Regions from separate parts of the Homo sapiens genome. Here regions 2, 3, 4 and 5 are each linked to region 1. Evidence: promoter capture Hi-C in 16 types of primary human blood cells and fetal thymus (Javierre and others, 2016). All regions are on one chromosome and are shown on one strand. Each heading gives the region's core, a stretch centred on a gene start or on the middle of the fragment in contact. The rest is flanking DNA. Distances are from core to core; before and after follow the strand shown.

Region 1 (2,870 bases), core at 108-2,607:
GTGTTTTAACACGGGCATGCCGTTTCAGAATTTCGGGTGAGACTAAGCTGTACTTTAGCTTTTTTGTGTCAAGCAAAAACAATTTCAGCAACAACACTCGCTTCCCCTGGTAATTTTTTTCATGGCGAATTACTAAATGCTAGATGCTCAAGTCAAAAAGAAACCTGACATCTGGGGAGGTGTTGAGGGGGTGTTAATAGTTCTAGTGAGATGTCTGGGGAGCGTTGAGGATACGATTTTTCAAACAGCAAATACAAGGATAAGGGGAAATTATGGTTTCGTATGACTCTCTCCTCCTTCCACTTTCTCGTTTCACCAATCTGTGGCCCCCCCAATTTAGAGGCGGGTTCAGTGAGATTAGGCTGCAGGAAACCGAGAGGCTCCACCGCGCTGCCGCCCCGGCCTCGTGATGTAATTGTTATTTCTTATTCGGAGACCGAACCGAGGAGAGCTGCTGAAGAAGTAGCAGCCCTGCTCCTTTTCCCTTGTCTTGTTGGGTCAGATCCTTCCCGGGGATGATGCAGATTGGCTGACAGACTCCGCTGGAGACTTCGCAGTGACAAAGCAGCCGAGGATTAACCCTGCTCCTGGGTCCTACGTCTGTCCAGGGAGCTGAGCGGGGCGCTCCTCAGGTCTCCTTCCTAGTTTTCCTCCCAGAGTCGCTCCACACGAGTGCTGGGCGCCTACTACGTGCTGGGCGTGGGGTCAAAGTGACCCAGAGTTCGCGCCCGTGCCCCCCAACATTAAAGCAGGACACACAGATTACAAGGAGATAGAAATTGGGGGTGGGTGGGTGAAAGGGGGCCCAGAGAGCGCGTGTTGTGGGGTGAAGGGGAGGAGGTAGACGCTTAAGGCAGGCGGGGACCCTGGAGCGTCTGGGGCGCCCCGGCCCCCAGGCTGTGCCCAAACGGGAGCATTCGGCCTGGGTCCCAAGAGCGCTTTCCCCGGTCCCCAGGAGGAGCTGTCCAGGCGCCTGCAGCGGTCGCGGGCGGCTGGACAGAGCTGGGAGCCCGGGGGACGGCCCGGGCGCGCCGTGCAGCCCCTCTCTCGGGGACGCGGTCCTCTCGCTGCCTCCGGGTCTTGCAGCCCCGTCTGGGACACCCGGAGAGCAGGCGAGAAGGAAATCCACGAAACAGAGGGGGTTCCGCAGCTCCTGTGAGCCGCCCGGATCCGCGCGGCTTCCTCCTGACCGGGTGACAATGGGAGGGAGGGGGAGAAAAGGGTTAAGAAACTTGGCTGAAGAGCTGAATGGCGTGGGGCGGCGAGGGGAGGGACTGGGCCGCGGCGGACTCGGCGGCGGAGGGAGGAGCGCGGCTGCGGGCGGGCGGTGAGCGAGGCGCTCAAAGTCAGCCTCGCAGACATTGCAGCAGAGCCCCGAACTCGGGAGGCGGCGGCGGAGGAGGCGGCGGCGAGGCGCAGGGACGACCCGGCCCCACGCCCGCCCGCCACCCGCGCGCGCCCGTCCGCCCGTGGCCTCGCGTCCGCCGCTGCGCCGTGAGCGCCGCTGGTCGGAGGGAAGAGCTCGCCGGGGCGCCGGGCCAGGACGGGGCGGCAGGCGCCTTCGCGGACCGAGCCTGACGGAGCCGGAGGCTGGGAGCCGCGGCGGCCTGGGGTGAGTGACGGCCGCGGCCAGGGCGCCAGGAGTAGCGGCCGCCGGCGCCGCCGGAAACGGCCCGGGAGCGCGGCCCGCGTCGGCTCTCGCTTGGCTGGCAGGGCCGCGGGGGCGTCGGGGCGGCGGGGAGGGCGCGTTTCCGGGGAAATCCTGCCTCTGCTGCCTGGTTCGAGTCTCCGGGTTCTCGCGGGGGGCCGGGGCGGCGGGCCGGCAAGTTGTGGAGTGGCCCCGGGTCGGCCCGCCCGTCCGTGCCAGTTCTGGGCAAGGGGGCGGCCGTCGCGTGGCCCCTGAGCGGGGCCGGACTCGGGGGGCCGGGTCGGGGTTGCCCCCGCTCGCTTGCCCTCTCGGTCCCGAACCCCGGGCACCGCTCGCCTCGCCGCTCTCCGTCCTGCTGTCCAGCCGGATCCTGGGCGGCGCCTTTCGCCTGGGTGCCTCCCTGCTCCTTGCTCGCTGGATACCCGGCTGGGAAAGTGAATAGGAAAAGGGACAGCTCGCCCGGCCCCCACCCGACCCCGGGCCGCTCTGCCCGCACTCGCGGTCCCCTCCCGATGGCGAGGCTCACGGACCCGAGGCCTCAGCCATCATTTTACCAGGAGCCAGGGGCCGGCCCCCATTTAGGGTGAGCCCGGTGGAAGTCCGGGAGGCTGCCTTTTCTCCCTTCTTCTGTGTCCACCTTATTACGATTGAATATTGTTTTATGAAGGTTTCCGTGGATGTATTCTGCAGACCCTCCCATCCCTTCCAAAGTAGTTTCCCAATTTTGATCAGGAGTTGGTGTTCAGTCAGAAGGAACAAAGGAACCAACTGTGTCTTAGAGGCGGACAGGCTGGGAGTCTGTGACACATGTTGATCTCTGAAGCATTCCAGGAGTTTCTACCTTTTATCACGTCAATAATTGGCTGCTGAAGGTAGTAAAAGAAGTACGGAATGATAAGCACTTTTGCGTTTTAAAAATATTTTTTAATGGCACATTTTACTTTGGGGAAAAAAGACGTTCTTAGGCACAAGGATTTTTAAAAACCCAGTTGGTGGAACTGAGTTGGAGTTTGTTTCTGGTATTGTAAATGATTACATGTGGGATTGTGAAGGAAATTGTGTCCTTAGAGGAAGAGAAGCCATCTGTAGGTGTCCATAGTAAAAATGGTTGTCGGGTTATATGTGATGAATGCTCTTTCTGTTTCTTGGGGGAATTTGTGAAGCAAGGGGCTTCGGTAATTCATTCTTTAAAGTTATGAATTGCATTGAACCTGCTTATTAG
Region 2 (2,870 bases), core at 250-2,749, 610 kb after region 1:
GCCATAGATTACTTTTTATTCCTCTCAGACTCTCTAAATGGTATCATACAATATATACAATTTTGTACACTTTTGTGTCTGTTATTTTGTTCAACATAACTTTTGTGAGATTGAGCTCTGTTGTATGTAGCAGCAGTTTGTCATTTTTATTGCTATATAGTATTAATATGCTGTGTATGCTAATGTATGGGTATTTATAATTTGCTTATTCATTTTTCTGTTGATGGACATTTGGTTCTTTCCAGTTTCAGGCTTCTGAAAAACAATACTGCTATGAACATTCTCTTAAGTGTTTTTTGGTGCACTTATATATGCATTTCTATAGGATATAAACTCAGAAGTTAAATTTCTGGATTTGTGTGTGCTCAGATTTAGTAGACAATGCCAGTTTTCCTAATGGTTTTTACCAGCTTTTACTCCTACCATCTGGTAAAGAAATTCTGGTTACTCTTCATCCTTGCCAACACTTGGTGATATCAGTCTCTCTCATTTACCCATTCTGGTGAGAGTGTAGTGGCAATTAATTACCATTTTTATTTGCATTTTTCTGAATCACATCAGTTTTATCTATCTTTCTTGAATAGAATTCTAATTTTCTAGTAGAACTTCTCCTTATAATCGTGGAGAATAAGCCCATCTCTTTTTTCTTGGGTGAGAGATTTTAGCAGTTATAGATCGCATATGACTATGCACATCTGTTGTCATATTCAGTAGATTTTCTATTGGAAGATTGTCTCTGCAAGTTTATATATATAATATAAAATAAATAATATATATAAAACTGGAGAAAAATTGAAATAAAATTTCAAGAAGTCTGTAATAATAAGAAAAAACACATAGAGGTTCTCATTCATGATGGCTTACCGAACACTCTTGAGTTAAGCTTCCTTCCCTGCTTCCTCAAATCCCTTTTCTAATGACACAGTAAGTAAAATGATAAAAAGTAAACTCATAAAAGCACTTGAAAGTCAGGTGTTACACCACCACAAACCAGAAAAGCAAAGAATTCCTGGAAGATAATATGAAGCAAGTGGGAACAGACTGACAATGAAATCTAACATAGCTGCAGAACTATAAGTCCTTTACAAACAAAGAAGAGCTCAAAATAAATGATTTTTTTTTAAGCACCAAATCACACAAAGAACAAAAGGCACAGGGTCTGGGAGATGGAACAGGCCACAAGGAGCTGTTCAGGTAATTAATTAAAGAATGATAATAACTGTACTATGAATCATCTCCACCCTCAAATTAGTGAATCTCACATTTGTACCCAAGGTCAATGTTTCAAGTTTAGGGTTGTAGAATGAGAATTCCATGCCCAGACTGAAGTTCTGGACTGAAGACATTGAGCAATACCTCAAGAGCATGCTACACACTATAAAGGAAAGTAACCTGACTATTCAATCCCCTCTTCAAATGGGAAGTGGGTAAAAGAAGAGGAATGGATATTGTGAGCCCATTTTAAAAAGTAGGGCCTTTGCAAGACCTAAGACTTGTAGAGAAAATAAAGTATTAAAATTCCTTATGGGCTTTCTCCATTGGTGATAGGACCTGTCCATATGCGTAGAGTGACTACATAATTTCTTGTCCAAATCATAACACTTCTGAGCATGACTAAAGACACTGTCAACAAATGTGCTTGGGTAAAAGACTTAAACGAAGACTCCTGAAGTGGTCGTGGGCATGTGGTCATGTCTACCTATGCCACCAACCTTCCACAGAAATGGGTGGAGATACAGCAGTCATATTTCTCATGTTTGATGACTGGGTCAACTATGCTTGCTTGCTGATCAGCCAGACAGTATGAAGATTCTAATTTTTTTAAAAAAGAAAGAAAAGTAAGAAGACAACTTTTTCTGATTATCAGAGAGAATTGAAATGGATTTTGGTACTAGGTTATCTTAAATAATTACTGATGTTGTTTTACAATTAGGTTTTTTAAGTCTTTACCTGTTACATTAATGTGAGCATTACCTATAAATTAAATTATGTGTGTCTAGGATTTGTTTTAAAACATTCTAGTGGGAAGTTGGAATAGGAGGAGAAGAGGGGTTGATTAATACATTGACAATATATTGGTGCTTGTTGAAGCTAAGTGAGTACATAGAAGCTTATTATTATTATTATCTCTGTACTTTTTACATGCTTAAAAATTTTGTACATGCTTGAAAATTTTCATAATACAATTTTAAGTGTCAATATAAGGGGTTTTCCAACTTAGAAAAACAGCATAGGGAAAAAAACAATAATCACAACATTTGGGAAGGCAGAATAAGTAAGAAATAATTTGGAGACCCCAGGAAGCTAAATCCTAAGCTAGCAGTAAGTAGATTTGAAAAAAAAATTATTCAATTTGCTTCATACACTCTCAAAAATCTCATGAATCTAGGGGAGACCATTAACATGTAGAAGTACAAGGGAATGTGAACTAGGAATAAGAGGACTTATTGAAAGCCTGTATGAGAGGCAATAAGACTTCAAGATTTCCCCTTCTATGCTGCTCAGCCAAAGATCTGTGCCACTTTCACACTGGCAGAATACCAGAGATTTAGAATGTGGAATGTAGTGCAGAGCGATTCAGAATTAAGAGATACCAATACCAGAACTTTGAACCAAGTATTCTGTACTGAAAACATGGGAACTAAGTAAAAGTCTATACATTTATATTGAAATCCCCAGTCCTATTTTTTCCTCCTAGCTCTAGGGATGCTGGTAGACAGATTTATACCATCCATGCATGAGAGAATTTTTATCGAAGAATCTGAGCTATTTACAAGAAAAAGATCTAAACCTATTGATTTAGGATCCCCTATGAGATCACCTAATAAGAACAGTTTACAGTTAAACCTATAATCAATAAGTCACACATA
Region 3 (2,870 bases), core at 260-2,759, 550 kb after region 1:
TGCAAAGTAAAATAAGAAAAATGAATACATTTTAAAATTATAGCCTTGCATATGTTTTTGTGATAAATGAACAAACCATTATTTAGTACTGTTGTGGAAAGCAATGGGTTCTTGTCACACGACCAGGAAAATTTAGGCACACAGACACATTGTAGGGTGAGTAGGGCAGGGTATATCGGGTGAAAAGGAAAAAAAAAAAGAGGAACTCTCAACAAAGCAAGAGTCCTGCTAGCAGGCTCCTACCTTACAGATTGAATCCCAGGCTACCACATAACAACAAAAGAGGCCAGGCTCCTCCCTGCAGCAAACCACACGACCTTCCCATAGCTCCGTCCCCTTCCCCCAGTGCACAGGTGGGCATTATTAAGAGAGAATCAGTTGGGAAAGGGTGGGCTTCATCCAGGATCATCAGTCTGGTTTTTCAGCCTTCAAGCTGTTTTAGGCTCGAAGGGGAGGTTTCGCAAGGGACCGTTGGCTGTTTCCTGTCTCTATCAGTACCCAGTACCGTGCAGGGCATTAAAAGTAAAATCTTATTTTAAGAAGCCTAACAGATGTTTGGGAAAGCAAAACATGAACCCGAAAAGATAGAATTCAAACTGACACTGACAATTCCAAATTTCCTGAGTATTTCTACTATAAAACAATGTGAGTATACATATATGTACACATACACATACATTGTATTTATACACATTATTTGATAGATATATATAAAATGTTATGTAAGTTGTAATTGCTTTAAATTAGAACAAGATTAAGTGGCCCAACTGTAAATTTGTTAAGGAGAGCATACAGCTGCTCAATTGGACTCTCACACTTCAATGTACACTGAAACATCCCATTGGTGAGTGCTACATACACATTTGTACACTATGAACATTTTAACCGTAGCTTAAGAAAAGCTTCCCATAAAATAAAGTTTACGTAATAATTTCAATAATATGTTCATTTAGTTGAGCACTCACGATGAAATAAGCACAATGCTAACTTTATCTATCTATAACAATTTACCTATTTATAACATAGGAACTATTAGTATATCTATTTTGCCATTGCAGAAATATGCTTGCTTCATCAAATAAAATTACTTCTAAATTACAGAGTGAGTAAATGACAAAGGCAGAAATCAACCTTTTCTCTGACTCCAAAGTTTGCCATATTATCTCATAAAGTAGGGGCCACATATGCTAAGTGGTTAATGACAGGTACAACAACAACTAATAAAATAGTACAGAGAAGGGGTGTCTACTAAGAAAACTGAAAATACTGTTTACCATTGAACCTGATTCAGCAACCTTACAGGTAATATATTCTTTTTAGATCAATAGGTTTTTAGATCAATAGGTTTTTAGATCCTATGCTTATTTTCAAATATAACTATCTGTAATATTTTAAAATAATTTAATTTCAGTAATGATCCCTTTTATTAATTTATTATGTATATATTCACATTTATGAGTAAACTTGTACATAATTGTATAGTCAATCAACATTTACATAATTGTAAGTAATAAATGTAATATATACATATAAATCTCCCCCTGGCCACATATATGTGTTTGTGTGTGTGTGTGTATATATATGGAGAGAGAGAGAAACTGTATATAATTTTATTTTCAGTTGGCATTTTGTATAAATTTTTAATTCTCCACAATCATACATATATTCTACTGCTATTTAGTTTATAATTCTGGAATTAACCTGTACAAGATAGCTCATGTTCATTCAGGTTCATTGGTTAATAATGGTGGCCTAGTAATTTGTAAAAGAATTTAGCAAACCTAATAAAATAGTGTGCATATTTTTCAACAATCCAGCACTCATTCAAAAAATAACTACTCTATGACAGGTTTTCCCTTAGACACTCAGGAAGTACTGTTGCAACAACACATGAAAATCCTTACTTCATGCCTGGAGTCTATAGGGGAAGACAAATCTTAAAAAGACAAGAACAAAACCATAAGTAATATTTAAATAGAAATTTAATTCAGGCTATGGAGAAAGGCATAGAAAAATGTTAACACTCAAAAGACATAAACATAATTTCTTTGTAGCTTCTGTAAATAACGCTAGAAAAACCTGAAAAATATGTGTGGTACATTTTTCTGAAGCTTAGAAATGGTAGAGTAACACAAGTAGTAATTAACATTTCTTATTTATGTTAGCAAAGTAATTTTATAATGAAGACAGAGAAAGTTTAAGTAGAGAGAAGAAAAAGGCTAACTCTAAAATTTTAAAGTGCTTCCGAATTAAATTTTATTCAGGACTTTTGAATTAAGCAAAGAATCTTTGCCTTGATTTCAACCTTGAATGTAGAAATTAATAAAGTGCAATGAGGGTTTAAATTGGCTGTCCATTCATATTTATCATAGGCAATTTGGGGTAAGATATGAAGCAAAATATAATATTGATTAATAATGATGTTAACTATGTGGTTAAACTTTTATATTAAAATATTCAAGTTCACTAAAGAGAAGTTTCCCATCATTTTTTATATTCAGTGAATGACTACCTGTCCACCTACCAGTAATGGTGGGCAGTGTTAAACTAGATGTCCTTCAAGTTTCCTTTCTTGCAAATATAAGGTATTTTAGGACGTGTAACCCAAACATGTCCTCCAAGAAAAAAAAATCTGCAACGTTCTACATGAGAAGTTTCATTTATTCAAATAATATCAAGTGCCAGCTCTGTGCTTGGAAGTACTCTAGACACTCAAAGAAAACAGACAAAGTCTCAAGTCTCATGGAGCATGCATCATAGTGGGAGACGCAGACAATAATCAAATGAACAAACATATTATCGGGTAATGTTAACTGCTTAGAGGAATAATTAATCAGGGCCAATAAACAGGATGTATGGAAGTGTGGAGG
Region 4 (2,870 bases), core at 192-2,691, 520 kb before region 1:
TTGAGACACTAAGCTTTCTTTTTTAAAGTTGTGAGCAGCTGGGAACAGTGACTCATGCCTGCTATCCCAGCACCTTGGGAGGCTGAGGCAGGCAGATCACTTGAGCCCAGGAGTTCGAGACCAGCCTAGGCCACATTGTGAGACCAAATCTCTACTAAAAATACAGAAATCAGCCAGGCATGGTGGCAGGCACCCATAGCCCCAGCTATTGAGGAGGCTGAGAAGTGAGAGGATTGCTTGAGCCCAGGAGGTCACAGCGGCAGTGAGCCATGATTGTGTCATGGCAACTCAGCCTGAGTGACAGTGTGAGACCCTATCTCAAAAATAATAAAATAAAATAAAATTAAAAAGTGTGGGCAATGTCCCTAATTTGCAGTTTATGGATTAAATGTTAATTTAAAGAATACTTACAACATATACCTATTCTCTTAGAGATTCCATTATAACTCAAACTAAAATATTCTATGTAACTAGATGGTTAACCTCAGTGAAAGATAAGGAACATAAGGCTAAGAGCAGTTAAATCATCAGGCAGAGGTAACACAGCTGGTCAGGTGAATGGAGCCCAGAACATCTAATTCCTCAACTGGCACGTTGTTTTTCACTATGCCAAGTTGTTCTTGCTAGGAATTCTTTGGATGCTGGTTCACCTGGGAGATTGAAGGGATGAGCCAGATTGCTCTCATACCTTGGAGTTCCAGGTGGAGATGGGGAAGGAGGGGGAAGAATCCCTAATTTGAGCAAGTTTTATAAAGAGGATACCATTTGACGCCACTGTGTGTTGAATAAACATGGAGATAGACCTGGTCCAATGGAAAGATTATGAATGTTTCCTTGATGGTTACTTGATCACTTGACTCTTAGTTTTCCTAAGAATAAATAGGAAAAAAAACATAAGCCTTGGGAAGTTGTTTAAGGGAAAATTGGGTAGACTATGTAAAGCATCTAGCAGAGTGATTTACTCACATTTGATGTTTAGTTAACATAAAAACTACTTTACCAGGCTTCTAAGGCAATTAACCATTTAAACCAAATTTGAATTAAAGCTAGGCATGGGGTAAGAAAGCAAGAAGTAAGAGAGACTTGGAGTCTGGTGTACTCTAATTAAGTTAAATGTGCAAAGGAGAAAAAGTGTTAATCTTTTCCTTACCTGTTTCAATGTTCCCAGCTAAGGCACCTGTAACAAAAGATAGATTAACAAGAGAAAAACAAATCTATTTAATATAAGTTTTGCCTGACATGGGAGCCTTCAGAAATGAAGACCCACCGGATACAGTGGCTCACGTCTGTAATCCCAGCACTTTGGGAGGCAGAGGCAGGTTGATCACTTGAGGTCAGAAGTTCGAGACCATCTTGGCCAACATGGTGAAACCCTGTCTCTAATAAAAATACAAAAATTAGCTGGGAGTGGTGGTGCATGCCTGTAATCCTAGCTGCTCAGGAGGTTGAGACAGGTGAATCTCTTGAACCCAGGAGGCGGAGCTTGCAGTGAGCTGAGATCGTGTCATTGCACTCCAGCCTGGGTGACAGAGCAAGACTCCTACTTGAAAAAAGAAAAAAAAAAAAAGAAAGAAACAAACAAAGTAAAATAAGAAATGAAGACCCCAAGAAACAGGGAAACTCGTATATTTTTATGCTTAGGTAGGAGGAAGAGTGGAGAGTTGTGCAGAAGTGTAATTGGACTAACAAGGTATGATCTAATGGTAACAAACCCCATCTTAGCAAGGCCTGTTTGCTCAGATTCTTCTCTGTGTCCCTCTGACTTCAGAGATAAGAACATTCTTTCCCTCCAGGTACAAGGAGGGCACCTCAGGAAACAGGATTTTATGATCTGCTTCACGGGAAAGTCAGCTGATTTTATTCTCTGCTACAGGAGAGAAGGTCAGAGAATTATTTCTACATTTTATGGCCTGCTTCAGAGGAGAAGGGGCAAGGGGAAGGTGAGAGTGACCTTCATGTTTCTACTATTTTCTCAAATGTCAAGATGCCACATCCTGGGTTAGTGTGTCCTGAACTCCATCAAATGCAAAACTTTAAAAGTTCAGGAACATACCAGTGTACTCTTTTGTTTGTTCAGGAAATACAGTGCTGTTTAATAAAGTTAACGAATCATAGGCCATCTAGTCTGTGTTTCCGAAGCATTCTCTCTCACCTTGGAGTATTTCAATCTTAGCAATTGCTAGCATCTAATAGGATCATCTGCAGAGGCACCAGAAAAGACTTCTGAGAGCAATGCTTTTAACTGAGACTTCTTTCTTGAAATTTAGATTGTTACATCTTTTTCCCCTTTGTGCTCTAGTTGCAGTCAAGACAATTTTCTTTTGTCCTGTGATGGTATTTTCTGCATACTATTGATCTGAGGCAAATAGTATCTGAGAAAAGAGAGTTTTCTTAGGCTATCGTGCCTTTCATCAAACAAGATAAATCATCAAATGAGCAAATTTGAGGTCTGTCTGGTTGTTATTCTTCACACAGTTTTGCCATGTGGATAGACATTGAGAGAACATGTACTCCACTGGTCTTTAGAGAATTAACAACAATATATTCTCGAGTAAATGTAGGCAAACTTGCCTTCCTGGTATTAGTGAGGCTCCTGGTAAACATTACTGAATAAGACACAGTCATTATCCTTAGGGAGCTCACAATTTAGCACTTGTTTATTGAACTACTGAAACAATTTATAGAACTGAGTTGTTAGTCAAGAAAATGAAAAAGGAGCTACAAACCAGTGTTCACAGAGAAGCAGATTTCCTGCTTTTAAAAAGCAATTCCATATACAAACGTTTGCTGCAATGTAATAAACAAGACTATTGGAAGAGAAAGAAGTAATTTAACTCTTTTTTTTTTCTAGTGGTCTAATCAAGCTTCCA
Region 5 (2,870 bases), core at 255-2,754, 530 kb after region 1:
TTGAATAGGAGTGGTGAGAGAGGGCATCCCTGTCTTATTGTTTCTTTGTAGCAAGTCTGTTAATATGTGTGTAAAAATGTTTGTGTATCAGTACAACTGTAACTCATTTTAAGCTTTATGTTAAGAACTCTAATATACCCAATGTTATGAAAGAATCCCATTGTTACCTAAAGGTAGAACTTGGTCCAGGTTAAAGAATATGGAAGAAATTTTGAAAATAGAAAGACATGGATCCCACAAATTAAAGTTAGTGACTGTAATTAGAACATCTTGGCCTTTACTTGAGAGGGATTAATGATCCGTGTTAATAAATTTTAGCAGGTTTTTCTTTGAGTAAAGGAGATTCAAGTACCATTGTTATTTTTGAGGGAAACGTTAGAATAATGACAGTTCTGGAAATAGCCTTTTTTTTAACCATTCTTTTTAATCTAAAGTGCATACTAAATGAGACACCATTAGTGTCACAGATGCTAATTTTCACTAGCAATGACTGAAGTGGCATTCTTTCCCATTTGCATTTGATCCTAGCAATGATGAGAGGTGATGAGTTGATTATGAGCTGTTTTCACTGCACTGCCTGCTGTGCAAATTTATGCTCCTAGACAAGGATGACACATAGTTGTACCATTAAAGAGCTTTCTTCACTGTTTTTTTGTATCAAGACTGCTAGGATACATTTTTAACTCTTATCTAACCAGGTATAAGAAAGAGAATAAGTATTTATATGCACTGGTGCTTACTTGAGGCCAGGTACTTGTCCAAGGTGCTCATGTCCATTATTATGTTTAATCTTCTCAAAACCCCAGGAGGTAGACATTATTTTTATCTCCAATTTACAAAGAAGAAAAAAGCCCTGTAGATGCAAAAATTTTCCACAAGTTAAAAGATTTGGGATTTATGGCACAGTTTTTCTGCTTCTAAGCCTGTGTCTCTCTCCTCCTACTCTCTATTACTTCTTCATCTGGGGTACAATTTTTGTTGAATGTTTGCCTTTTCAAACAGAGTTTTCTGGAATAAAATACATGATATAAAATGTAGGTAATATGTTAGATTTACTCTTTTCCCCTTTAAAAAACGGTGGCTATAAGTAAATATTTATTTTAACTTCTAGTTATTACCTCCGTCCGCTCCAAAAACAAAACAAAACAAAAAACCAGATATCTCAAAAGGTTGTCTTCATTTTTGTGTTTATGTAGCATTTATAGCATTTTAAAAAGTATTTTTGATAAACTATAATGCAAACATAAAACCAAATAAGACAAGTCAGGAGAAAATGAAGTCTAGAACATGTTAAAATGTATCTCAAGGTTCATCAAGGCTGACTTGAATCTAAGAACTTGCTACTCACTGTGGTCCTATAGAGCAACAGCACGGGCATTCCAGGAGCTTGTTAGCCATGTGCATTTTCCAGTCTCCCCCAGGCCTACGAAATGAAAACATACATTTTAACAAGATACTCAGCAGTTCTGTGAGCACTTTATAATTTGGAAATGATGCTCTAGGTTGATGGTTTTTGGAGCCTAGGCCGAATATTTGAATCACTAAAGAGCTTTAAAAAAAAAACTGATGATTGGGTTCCATCCCCAAATATTCTTATTTACCTAATATAAAATGTGACTGGACATCAAGAATTTTTAAAGTTTTCCAACCTGGCAGCACTTTTTTCTACTTTTCAAAAGACTTAAAAGTTAATTCACTAATCCATGCATTCGTTCATTCATTTATCCTTCAACGCAACAAATGTCTATTAAATGCTTATTATGGACAATACACTGGCGATACCAAGGTGAACAAAAGATACCATATTTGCTGGAGATGACAGACAATAAATAGGATAAATAAGTAATATATACAGTATGCTAGATAATGATAGGTGCCAAGAAGAAAAAAAAATTAACAGAAAAGAAGGATTTGAAATATGAAGAACTAGAGAAGCCTTGGTGAGAATGGGACATTGGAAAAAGGACTGGAAGAAAGTGAAGGAGCTGGTCTTGGGATTGGTGAAGGAAACTGTACTCTGGGCAGAGGGAAGAGCAAGTGCAAAGGCCTTGAAATGGGACTGTCTCTGGTGTGTTTGAGAAGCAGTGGGGCAGAGTGCATAGCGGGAAGAGCCGCCGCAAAGAGCTGGATCACTGAAGGCGTTCTAGGCCATTAAAATAATTTTAGCTAGTGTTGAAAGATGTTTGAGAAGTGACAGAATCTGGCCTACAGTTTAGTGGGTTTATTTTGGCTTTTGTGTTTCAAATATACTGAAGGGAGTGAGACCAGTTAACAGACTATTGCAGAAACCAGGCAAGGGATAACTGTGGTTCAGACAAAGGAACGGCCCAGTTGACTTTGGTGTTGAGAAGACTCTAAATTTGGGATATATTTGTACTTACTTTATCCATTTGGATGTTTATAGGTAACTTACTACATGCTGTCTAAAGATGGCAGACAGAAAGTTTCCACTGTCCGGTCCCATTCTTGCTTCCAGTTGGTGCTTGCATGCCAAGGAGAAATGGCCTCATTCCATTGTTTACAGTCACCAGAAATTCACCCCTAAATTGATGTCTCACTTTGCAAAGGCTTCTTCTTCTTCTTTCTTAAACATATAATTTTCCATTGGATTTTATTTTAATTCGTAGTGCACCTTTTAAATAATTTTTAGCCTTGACCACTTCTCTCCAAACAAAGCACTAATACATTTTAGCTTTTCCGTTTTACAGAATATGAATCTGTAATCAAGTTTTATCCCAAGCAGGTAGCAAAATGTTTGGGGCCAAATGTATTAGCTATACTTGAAAAGTGTTCAGATAATATTCAGAAAGATCAGATGAATAGCTAGAGAAATGACAGAAGTGTAGCCTCCCCTTTGTTTGGAAATTTGG

What was found. The method cuts DNA at HindIII sites, captures the fragments that hold promoters and counts their contacts. A CHiCAGO score of 5 or more calls a contact.
Region 2: a contact is called between a fragment that was not itself captured here and the fragment with the promoter of NRIP1 in region 1, in 1 of 17 cell types (erythroblasts). The highest score is 6.7, in erythroblasts.
Region 3: a contact is called between a fragment that was not itself captured here and the fragment with the promoter of NRIP1 in region 1, in 1 of 17 cell types (erythroblasts). The highest score is 5.3, in erythroblasts.
Region 4: a fragment that was not itself captured here is called in contact with the fragment with the promoter of NRIP1 in region 1 in 5 of 17 cell types (naive CD8 T cells, naive CD4 T cells, total CD4 T cells and 2 more); the score reaches 7.1 in naive CD8 T cells.
Region 5: a fragment that was not itself captured here is called in contact with the fragment with the promoter of NRIP1 in region 1 in 1 of 17 cell types (fetal thymus); the score reaches 5.1 in fetal thymus.

Annotation. Positions count from the first base shown.
Region 1 is chr21:15,063,487-15,066,356 of GRCh38, reverse strand. NRIP1 (nuclear receptor interacting protein 1) reads left to right here and starts at 1,357. Exons shown (of 4, transcript NM_003489.4): 1 at 1,357-1,612. RefSeq lists an enhancer at 456-505 and silencers at 836-1,015, 1,266-2,125. The HindIII fragment of the contact is 10,218 bases long and covers 1-2,870 here.
Region 2 is chr21:14,456,770-14,459,639 of GRCh38, reverse strand. No RefSeq gene overlaps it. Among named protein-coding and RNA genes, the nearest start is that of HSPA13, 75 kb to the right of the region's middle. The HindIII fragment of the contact is 1,227 bases long and covers 886-2,112 here.
Region 3 is chr21:14,518,207-14,521,076 of GRCh38, reverse strand. The region is part of intron 2 of SAMSN1 (SAM domain, SH3 domain and nuclear localization signals 1); the gene reads left to right. The region is part of intron 1 of LOC124905053 (a long non-coding RNA gene); the gene reads right to left. Among named protein-coding and RNA genes, the nearest start is that of SAMSN1, 27 kb to the left of the region's middle. The HindIII fragment of the contact is 1,209 bases long and covers 905-2,113 here.
Region 4 is chr21:15,586,175-15,589,044 of GRCh38, reverse strand. All of the region lies in intron 1 of LOC105369302 (a long non-coding RNA gene), which reads left to right. Among named protein-coding and RNA genes, the nearest start is that of USP25, 140 kb to the left of the region's middle. The HindIII fragment of the contact is 2,851 bases long and covers 16-2,866 here.
Region 5 is chr21:14,536,399-14,539,268 of GRCh38, reverse strand. All of the region lies in intron 1 of SAMSN1 (SAM domain, SH3 domain and nuclear localization signals 1), which reads left to right. It overlaps LOC124905053 (a long non-coding RNA gene), which reads right to left. Exons shown (of 3, transcript XR_007067925.1): 2 at 1,349-1,423; 3 at 741-853. Among named protein-coding and RNA genes, the nearest start is that of SAMSN1, 8.5 kb to the left of the region's middle. The HindIII fragment of the contact is 2,777 bases long and covers 116-2,870 here.